Linked DNA regions of Homo sapiens: region 1 is linked to region 2. The links are contacts of gene promoters, found by promoter capture Hi-C in blood cells and fetal thymus (Javierre and others, 2016). All regions are on one chromosome and are shown on one strand. The core of a region is centred on a gene start or on the middle of the fragment in contact, and the rest is flanking DNA. Distances in the headings are between cores, read along the strand shown. Region 1 has its middle 21 kb from the start of ABT1. Region 2 holds the start of LARRPM (LINC00240 antisense RNA regulating promoter methylation).

Evidence for each region. Contacts are between HindIII fragments. The CHiCAGO score rates a contact against its expected background, and 5 or more counts as called.
Region 1: a contact is called between a fragment that was not itself captured here and the fragment with the promoter of LARRPM in region 2, in 2 of 17 cell types (M2 macrophages and megakaryocytes). The highest score is 5.2, in M2 macrophages.

Annotation. Positions count from the first base shown.
Region 1 is chr6:26,615,537-26,620,409 of GRCh38, forward strand. No RefSeq gene overlaps it. Among named protein-coding and RNA genes, the nearest start is that of ABT1, 21 kb to the left of the region's middle. The HindIII fragment of the contact is 9,729 bases long and covers 1-4,873 here.
Region 2 is chr6:27,017,295-27,022,176 of GRCh38, forward strand. LARRPM (LINC00240 antisense RNA regulating promoter methylation) reads right to left here and starts at 3,012. Exons shown (of 1, transcript NR_026776.1): 1 at 2,072-3,012. All of the region lies in intron 2 of LINC00240 (long intergenic non-protein coding RNA 240), which reads left to right. TRI-TAT2-2 (tRNA-Ile (anticodon TAT) 2-2) reads left to right here and starts at 3,052; the gene lies at 3,052-3,145. RefSeq lists an enhancer at 2,757-3,016. The HindIII fragment of the contact is 5,623 bases long and covers 1-4,882 here.

The DNA of each region.
Region 1 (4,873 bases), core at 1,158-3,657, 400 kb before region 2:
TATATTATGTAAATCATACTTCTATTTATATTTTAAAATGGCTATTGATATATAGATAGAGATGTGTTTACAAAGGCATAAAAGAACAATTGAAAGGATATAGATTGAACTGTAATAAAGTGATTAACTCTGGTTTGGGACTGGATTGGGAGGAATGGCAATGTTATAGTGGTATATTGTTCCAAATTTTCTACTTGTATTATATCTTTCCAGTAACAAAACAGTGAACATAATTATAATTTTATTTATTTATTTATTTTTGAGACAGAGTTTTGTTTTTGTTGCCCAGGCTGGAGTGCAATGGCGCGATCTCGGCTCACCACAACCTCTGCCTCCTGGGTTCAAGCGATTCTCCTGCCTCAGCCTCCCGAGTAGCTGGGATTACAGGCATGTGCCACCATGCCTAGCTAATTTTGTATTTTTAGTAGAGACAGGGTTTCACCATGTTGGTCAGGCTGGTTTTGAACTCCCAACCTCAGGTGATCCACCCTCCTCGGCCTCCCAAAGTGCTGGGATTACAGGTGTGAGCCACCACGCCCAGCCATAATTTTAATTTTAAAGGCAAAGAAAAAAAGAGTTCATTTTGGCAACTTGGAAGAATGGATTGGAAACCAAGAGTTTGGAGGCTGAGATGTGAAACAGTTCATTGGAAGAGTCAACATTATCCTGATATCAAGATCAAATAAAGACAGTACAGGAAAAGAAAAACTACTACTATCCTTCATAAATATAGACACAAAAATTCCCAGCAAAATAATAGGAATTTGAATCTGGCAATATATATTTAGAAATACAATTAGGAAAAAGGTAAGGATGTCCCTCTCATCACTCCTTTTCAGCATTTTACTGGAAGTTCTAGCTAATGCAATAAGACAAGAAAAGAAAATATAAGGTATACAGATTGGAAAGGAAGAAATAAAAACTGTCTTTGTTCACAGTATTGTCTATGTAGAAAATCTGAAAGAACTGAAAAAAATTCTTGGAACTAATAAGTGATTATAGCAATGTTGCAGGATATAAGGTTAATATACAAAAGTGAAATGTTTTCTATATACCAACAAAAAACAAGTTGAATTTGAAATTAAAAACACAATACCATTTACACCCACCCAAAATGAACATTAAATGCATACCACTAAGTGAAAAAGGCCAATTTGAAAAGGCTACATCCTGTATGATTCCAAATAATGTATATGACATTCTGGAAAAGGCAAAACTATATGAAGACAATGTAAGAACCAGTGGTTTCTAGGAGTTAAGAGTAAGGGAGGGTAGTAGGGAGGGATGAATAGACAAAGTACAGAGGATTTTAGGGAAAAACTGTTCTATATGATACTATTATGGTGGATACATGTCATTATACATTTGTCAAAGTCCATGGAATGTACAATACCAAGAGTGAACTTTAATGTAAACTATAGACTTTGAGTGATAGTGATGTGTCAGTGTAGGCTCACCAATTTTAACAAATGTACCACTCTGGTACAGGATGTTGATAGTGGAGGAGGTTCTGCATAGTGGAGGAGGTAGCAGGTATGTCGGAATTCTCTGTACTTTCTGCTCAATTTTGCTGTAAACCTAAAACTTCTCTAAAAAATAAATCTATTTAAAAACGCACCACTGGTAAATGGGGTTAATCCCTTAAGTGCAAGGCTGTTTGAATATTTGAAAATCAATCAATATTCTCTACTACATTAACAGATTAAAAAAGAAAATCACATTATCATATCAATGAATGTGAAAAAGCATTTGACAAAAATCAACCACCATTCATGATTAAAACTTTCAGCAAACTAGGAGGAGTTTGCTGTTCCTAGCAACTATTTTTGACCTAATAAATGACATCTACAAATTATGTATATTAGACAGCATATTTAATGGCAAAAGACTGAATGCTTTTCCTGAAGTTCAGGTACAAGTTAAAGATGCCCACTATCATCACTCTTATTCAATGTCTTACTGATATTTTTGACAGTGTAATAAGGCAAGAAATTGGCATAAAAAGTGGAAAGGAAGCAATAAAAAATGTTCCCATTCACAGATGACATTTCTGTCTACATAGAAAATCCAAGGAAATCTATAAAAAGTTCTTAGCACTGGCTGGGCATGGTGGCTCATGCCTATAATCCCAGGACTTTGGGAGGCCCAGGCAGGCTGATCACCTGAGGTCAGGAGTTCAAGACCAGCCTGACCAACATAGAGAAACCCTGTCTCTACTAAAAATACAAAATTAGCCGGGCTTGGTGGTGCATGCCTGTAATCCCAGCTACTCGGGATGCTGTGGCAGGAGAATCGCTTGAACCTGGGAGGCAGAGGCTGCAGTGAGCTGAGATTGCACCATTGCACTCCAGCCTGGGCAACATGAGTGAAACTCCATCTCAAAAAAATAAAAAATAAAAGATTCTTAGCACCAATAAGTAATGAGTTTGCAGAATACAAATTCATCATAAAAAAATCAATACTATATATACTATCATTGAATAATTGGAAACTAAAATTTTAAAACATACTGTGTACAGAAGCTCCAAAATATTAAATTACTTAGATATAAATCTAATAAACATGTGCAGAGTCTGTATATTAAAATTTACAAAGTGTTATAGACCTAAATCAAAGAACAGATAAATTAATGGAGGGATATACCATGTTCATAGATTGGAAGACTAAACACAGTTTAGATGTTAGTTCTCACAATCTGATCTATGAATGTAACCCAATTTAAATTAAAACCCATCATTATTTTGTTTGTATATGTATACAAGATGATTCTGAAATTCATATGGAAAGGCAAAGAATCAGAATGGCCAAAACAATTTTGAAAAAGAACACAATTGGAGATCTCAAACTAGCTATTATAAAAATTATTATAAAGAAACAGTCATTAAAAGTTTGGCAGCTGGGCTCGGTGGCTCACGCCTGTAATCCCAGAACTTTGGGAGGCCAAGATGGGCGGATCACGAGGTCAGGAGTTCGAGACCAGCCTGACCAACATGGTGAAACCCGGTATCTACTAAAAATACAAAAATTAGCCTGGTGTGGTGGCACATGCCTGTAATCCCAGCTACTCAGGAGGCTGAGGCAGGAGAATGGCTTCAACCCGGGAGGCAGAAGTTGCAGTGAGCCAAGTTCATGCCACTGCACTCCAGCCTGGTCAAGGGAGCAAGATTCCATTCCCCTCCACCCCCCACCCAAAAAAAAAGTTTGGTATTAGTGAAAAGATAGACTCACAAACCAGTGAAATAGAACAGAGAGTCCAGAAATAGACACATACAAATATACATAGTTGATTTTTTTTCCTTGAAAATTATACTACTTTATTTGGAGTAGAGACAGAGGAAAGAGTTTGGAATGATATTATCAAAAATATGTGTGTGGTATCTAGAGCAAGGCCATTTACTATGTATAATGGAAATGAATAAGAAAACAACTGTGAACTCATACAAAATCAATAATTTTAATCATAACATCATAGCTAAAAATATTAAGAGATTTAAGAATAATTCACTTATTCTTTTAGTGTCAAAAACTCAAGGGACTCCATCATCTCCTCATTTTCTTTAAAAAATCTGTCTGCATATTAATGTTCTAATCATGTCAATATAGAATGAAGAAAATATTTAAAATTGACAGACTGACATTATAGGAAAGGATGCTTTCAGCCGGGCGCAGTGGCTCATGCCTGTAATCCCAGCACTTTGGGAGGCTGAGGTGGGCGGATCACGAGGTCAGGAGTTTGAGACCAGCCTGACCAATATGGTGACACCCCCGTCTCTACTAAAAATACAAAAATTAGCCAGGCGTGGTGGCGTGCGCCTGTAGTCCCAGCTACTCAGGAGACTGAGTCAGAAGGATCGCTTGAACTTGGGAGGCAGAGGTTGCAGTGAGCCAAGATCACGCCATTGCACTCCAGCCTGGGTGACAGAGCAAAACTCGTGTCTCAAAAAAAAAAAAAAAAAAAAAAGGATGCTTTCAAAATTATACACGTTGTGCAGAGATTTAATGCTCAGTTCAAAGATGAACAACAGAGAGCATGTACCTGGCCTTATTTCTCCTGGTTTTCAAGGAATCATGATCTTTGATAGGTTTCTTGAGAAATGCCACAAAAAAGAACAACAAAAACGTTCTGGAATTTTCTATTCTTTAAAAAAGAAAATGGACCAAAAAATAATAAAGTATAACTTTTTGCCATAGAAAAGATAACAAGCAAAGAACTACAAAGTCAAACACAGATTCAGAAGACACTTGCTCATGAGCAGCTTTGTCTTTTTTAGCCGAATCTACAGCCATAATTCCTGATTCAGATATGTATTTTTATTGAAGATTACTTTTTTTTTTTTAACATACTAACTGAATCACAGGCCGTTTACAGTTAAAGAAGTAGCAGTGGGTAAACAGATGTCACTGGAAAACAGTACAGATCACAAACAGTTCAGGGATGAAACTCTGAATGTAGCATCTTCAGTGAAACTTGAAAAGGCCTTTTTGAACACACACTGTTACGTGAGTGTGGGCAATTGATTTTTGATAAAGGTGCAAAGGAATTCAACGGAGAAAAAATAAAGTATTTTGTTGTTGTTGTTGTTTGTTTTTTTGAGACAGGGTCACATTCTGTCATTCAGCCTGGAGTGCAGTGGCATGATCATGGCTCACTGCAGCCTCCATATCCTGGTCTCAAGTGATCCTCCTACCTCAGCCTCCCAAGTAGCTGGGACTTACAGGTGTGCACCACCATGCCGGGCTAATTTTCATTTTTTTGTAAAGATGGGGTCTCATTATGTTGCCCAGGCTAGTTTCAAACTCCTGAGCTCAAAGCAGCCTCCTGCCTTTGTCTCCCAAAGTGTTGGGATCACAGGCATGAACCACTGCACCCCAC
Region 2 (4,882 bases), core at 1,762-4,261:
AAAGCAATATACAGATTCAACACAATATCAAAATTCCAATATTTTTCACAGAAATAAAAACATTCTAAGATTGCATAAAACCACAAAAGACCTTAAATAGCCAGGGCAATCTTGAGAAAGAAGAACAAAGTTGGAGGCATCACACTACCTGACTTCAAAATATACTATACAAAGCCATACAATCAAAACAGCACGGCACTGACATGAAAACAGACACATAGACCGATGGAACAAAATAGAGAGCCCAGAAATAAATCTACACATTTAGAGTCAACTGATTTTTGACAAGCGTGACAAAAATACACATTGGGGAAAAGACAGCCTCTTCAATAAATGGTGTTGGGAAAACTGGGAACCCACATACAAAATAAAAAAATTACACCCTTATCTTACACCTTACATAAAATTCAACTCGAAATAGGTTAAAGACTTAAACAGAAGACCTGAAATTGTAAAACTCCTAGAAGAAAATGTAAGGGAAAACCTCCTTGACACTGGCCTTTGTAATGATTTCTTGGACAGGACACCAAAAGCTCAGGAAACAAAAGCAAAAGTAAACAAGTGAGACTACATCAAACGAAAAATCTGCACAGAGAAGAAAACAATGGGCAAAACGAAAAGGCAACTATTGGTTGGGAGAAAATATTTGTAAACCATGTATCTGATAAGGAGTTAATATCCAAAATATATAAGGTATATATATATATACACATACAACTCAATAGCAAGAAAACCAAATCTAATTAAAAAATAGGTAAAGAACCTGAACAGATATTTTCCCAAGGATGACATAAAAAATGGCCAATAGAAAAAATGCTCAACATCTCTAATCATCATGGAAATGCAAATCAAACCCACAATGAGACATCATCTCAGACCTGTTAGAATAACCAATTTAAAAATATAAAAAATAACAAGTGTTGGCAATGTAGAGAAAAGGGAACCCTTTTACATTATGAGTGGGAATGCAAATTAGTACCGCCTTTATGGAAAACAGCAGTATGGCTGTTCCTCAGAAAATTACAAATAGAACTACCACATGATCCAGCAGTACCTTTTCTGGGTATATACTGTGAAAGTAAAATATCTTGCACCCCCAAAATCACTAGCTAAAAGGAAAATTCAAGCTGGAAACTGCTCAGTGCAAACTTGCCTCCCATTCTATTCAAAGTCATCCCTCTGCTCACTGAGATAGATGCATACTCTGATTGCCTCCTTTGGAAAGGTTTATCAGAAACTCAAAAGTAAGACCTGGCAGCCCCCTCCCTGCTTTGTCCCCGCCTTTCTGGATGGAACCAATGTACTTCTTACATATATTGACTGATGTCTCATGTGTCCCTAAAATGTATAAAACTAAGCTGTGCCCCGATTACCTTGGGCACAGGTAGTCAGAACTCCCTGAGGCTGTGTCACAGGGGTGTGTCCTCAACCTTCGCAAAATAAACTTTCTAAATTAACTGAAACGTGTCTCAAATTTTCGGTGTTCACATCCGCAAAGGAAATGAAATCAGGATCTCGAAGCAATAACTGCATGCCCATCTTCATTGAAACATTATTCACAATAACTAAGATATGGAATCGACCTAAGTGGCTGTCCACCAATGAATGGATAAAGCACATATAGTTTATACACACAATAGAATATTATTCATCCTTAATAAAGAAGATCCTGCTGTTTGCAACATGGATGAACCTCGATGTCATTATGCTAAGTGAAACAAGCCAGACACAGCAAGAAAAATACTGCATGATCTCTTATGTGGATTCTAAAAAAGTCAAATACATAGAAGCAGAGTAGAACAGTGGTTACCAGGGGTGGAGACGTATGGAAATGGTTAAGATGTTGGTCAAAGGATACAAAGTTGCAGTTCTATAGGATGAATAAGTCTAGAGATGTAATGCATAGCATAACTATAGTTAATACTGCATTGTGCATTGGAAACTTGCGGAGAGTACATTTCATGCGCTCTCACCACTTACACAAAATAGTAACTGTGAAGAGATGTATTATGTTAATTAGCTTGACTGTAGAAATCATTTCACTGTGTACATGTATCAAAACATCATGTTGTACACCTTAAATATATAGTTTTTATTTTTAAAACACTGTTTGGGATTAAAAGCCCAGCTAATTCTGCCTTAATATCTCATTCTTATCCACAATGTCCACCCATAAGAAAGACGCCCGATACTCCGTGTAAACACACACTCCCCATCTCCCATACAAATTTACCTTCTAGAGAGAGCCCTTTTCCCCAAACTCTCCTCTCAAAACACTCTGAAGCACAAGGTCTTTAGCCTAGTTAGACATTTTCTGAAAAACTTAGTTTAACTCAGCGTAGAGACACCATGAATTTCAGAGACCCAGTCCTGGGCCTGCTTCAGTTGCTTTAGCCTAGAGTTTCAACTCCCAGGTCCCGGGGAGGGATGCTCCAAGGAAGAAATAGAGGCCCTATTCCAGGGCTGTTTCTCGCAGACTAGCCACAGAAAATGCAGCCCAGCGCCACTTCCTTTCAGTAGCAACACGTTTCCAACACGTTTGTTAAGCGGGAACGGAAGTGAGCGGAAAGGAATGCGTTTGGTAAATCCCACTTTAAGGATTTCGTAATCCTCCCAGGGATTCCCACCACCCGCACTCCACTCGCAGACTGCGGGCCTTCCTCCGACGCTGGGAGAAGGACCCTGGGAGAGGCAAGGGAAGGGCTCCGGAACCAGCGCAGCAGCGGGACGCTAGCCCGCCCACACGGCGGCCACTTGAAGGTCCTCCAGGGAACACCTGAGGCAGTGGGAGCGTCTGCCCTTTCCTAAGTCTCCTTGGAAAGAAGTATTCGCTTTCGTTTCCGCAAACAAAGCATGCTCCGCGCTTTCAGGACCGGTGGCTCCCGTGGAGACCGCAGCGGAACCCAGTCCGCCTTCGCACGCGTCCGGGGGAGAAGCGGCCCCAGGACTAAGGGCGCGCGCCCGAGGAACCGGTGCTGTGACGACCAGAGCAAACACGCCGGATGTTCCTGTGTAGGCTGTGTAAGGAGTGACCGGAAGTAGAAACTGGGTGCTCCAGTGGCGCAATCGGTTAGCGCGCGGTACTTATATGGCAGTATGTGTGCGAGTGATGCCGAGGTTGTGAGTTCGAGCCTCACCTGGAGCATTGTTTTCCAACCCAAAATAGCATTACTTGAAGTGCCTTTCCCCCTGTAATCCGACTCCATCGTCTTTAACGTGTTTGGAATTGTGTACACAGTTTATTGTTATTGGTTTCCTTAGCCTTTTTAGAACCAAGCAACGCCAATTACCAACAAAATCCGTTGCGCCGCAGTGAGTTAGCTACCTTCTATCTCCACTTTGTTCTGCACGTCGATCTCAGGTAAAGAACATCATCTCTTTACATCCTTCTTTCCACTTTGTTCTTAGGATCATCGATCATCGTTCCTCGGGGAGCCCCTGGCACATACTTAGTGCTAAGAAACTCCCATCAGGTGATAAGCATTGAACTCCATTTAAGGAAACTCAAAAGTGGGAAATAGTAAAAGGTTCCTGTCTGATTAAAGCTCTGATTGGGAGGGGTGTGGGGGGACTGATTTCTGACAACAGTGTCCCCTCCAGTATTTTTCCCCCACTTAATTTTACCCTGATAAAAATCAACAGTCATGGAAGATCTAGCAGCTTCTATCAACTGAGAAACAGCACCTGGTGTCCTCAGGCATTCAATTACCTGGACTTGGAAAAGGATGAGTGATAATAGACCCAGAAACCTGAAATCTTTAGAACAGCATTACAAGAATAAGCATATTGTTGTGGCTGAGGTGGGTAGGAAGTAGATAGGGATTTTGACTTTAAAATAGGCTTCCTCTCCCTATGACACCTGCAGTTTGCCTGGACATAGCTTTTATCATATGCTTCCCAACTCTTCAGCAAGAGAGGGAATTGAACTGAGTAATTGGGAGTTGTTTTCCTAGCTATAAAGATTGCCACAAATCTGAAAGCACATGTGTCCCACTTGGGACACGGAGGTGAGTGGAATTAAGCTGAGCACAGATAACTCTCTCTTGAGATCTGTATTCCTAAATGGGTCTTGCATGTATCTGGACATTGTCCACTCACAGACTCTCTCCTGAGAAAGGTTAGCGAGGTCCCGTTCAGGAATGCACCAGATGATAATAAAGTGAACACCTTCTCACTTTGTAGCTCTTGCTAAGCCACTGGAGTACCTTAAAAGCTATCAAAGCATAATCTTCAAATATATATATAGTAACTAATCACCAAATATTTATTTAAGTCACTAATGAGAAAAGGAGGAGTATGGTAAACTGATTGCAATGGCAATAGAAAAGGCTGGTAAAGGTATAGTCAGTGGGGGAAAAATAATGCTGACATGAGATTGCAAGTTTAAGTAAAAAACTAGCTAATGTCCTATGAGGCAGTGAAAACTATGGCCTTTGGGATTATTTTTATCTAAAAGACAGAAACTAGTTGCATCTTTACTGGGTAAAAATCATTCAAAACTTAATATTCTACATAATGACATTTAACCTTGTAATCTATTTTCTAATCATTAGTAAATAGTGACCTCCAAAAGTTCCATTAACTTAGAGGATTACTTGCCCCTTCAGTGGGCTTGTTAGACAATGCTCTAGTATTATTTTGAAAGAGTACTAATATCTTTTTTTTTTGCCTTATATTAACTTTTGGATATTTTTTCTGAATAGATTTAGCACCTTAATTCAATTATTTTATCTCTGTTCCTGATCAGTTGAAGGTATTATTGAGTGTCTTCAGACAGTGTTTAAAAAATGGTGACCTTTGCCATAAAGAATTTTTGTGAACTGGCTTAAGCCAGTTTTGTGATACACAACTTTGGGTGCTTTTGGTAGATGTCTGTAGGCAG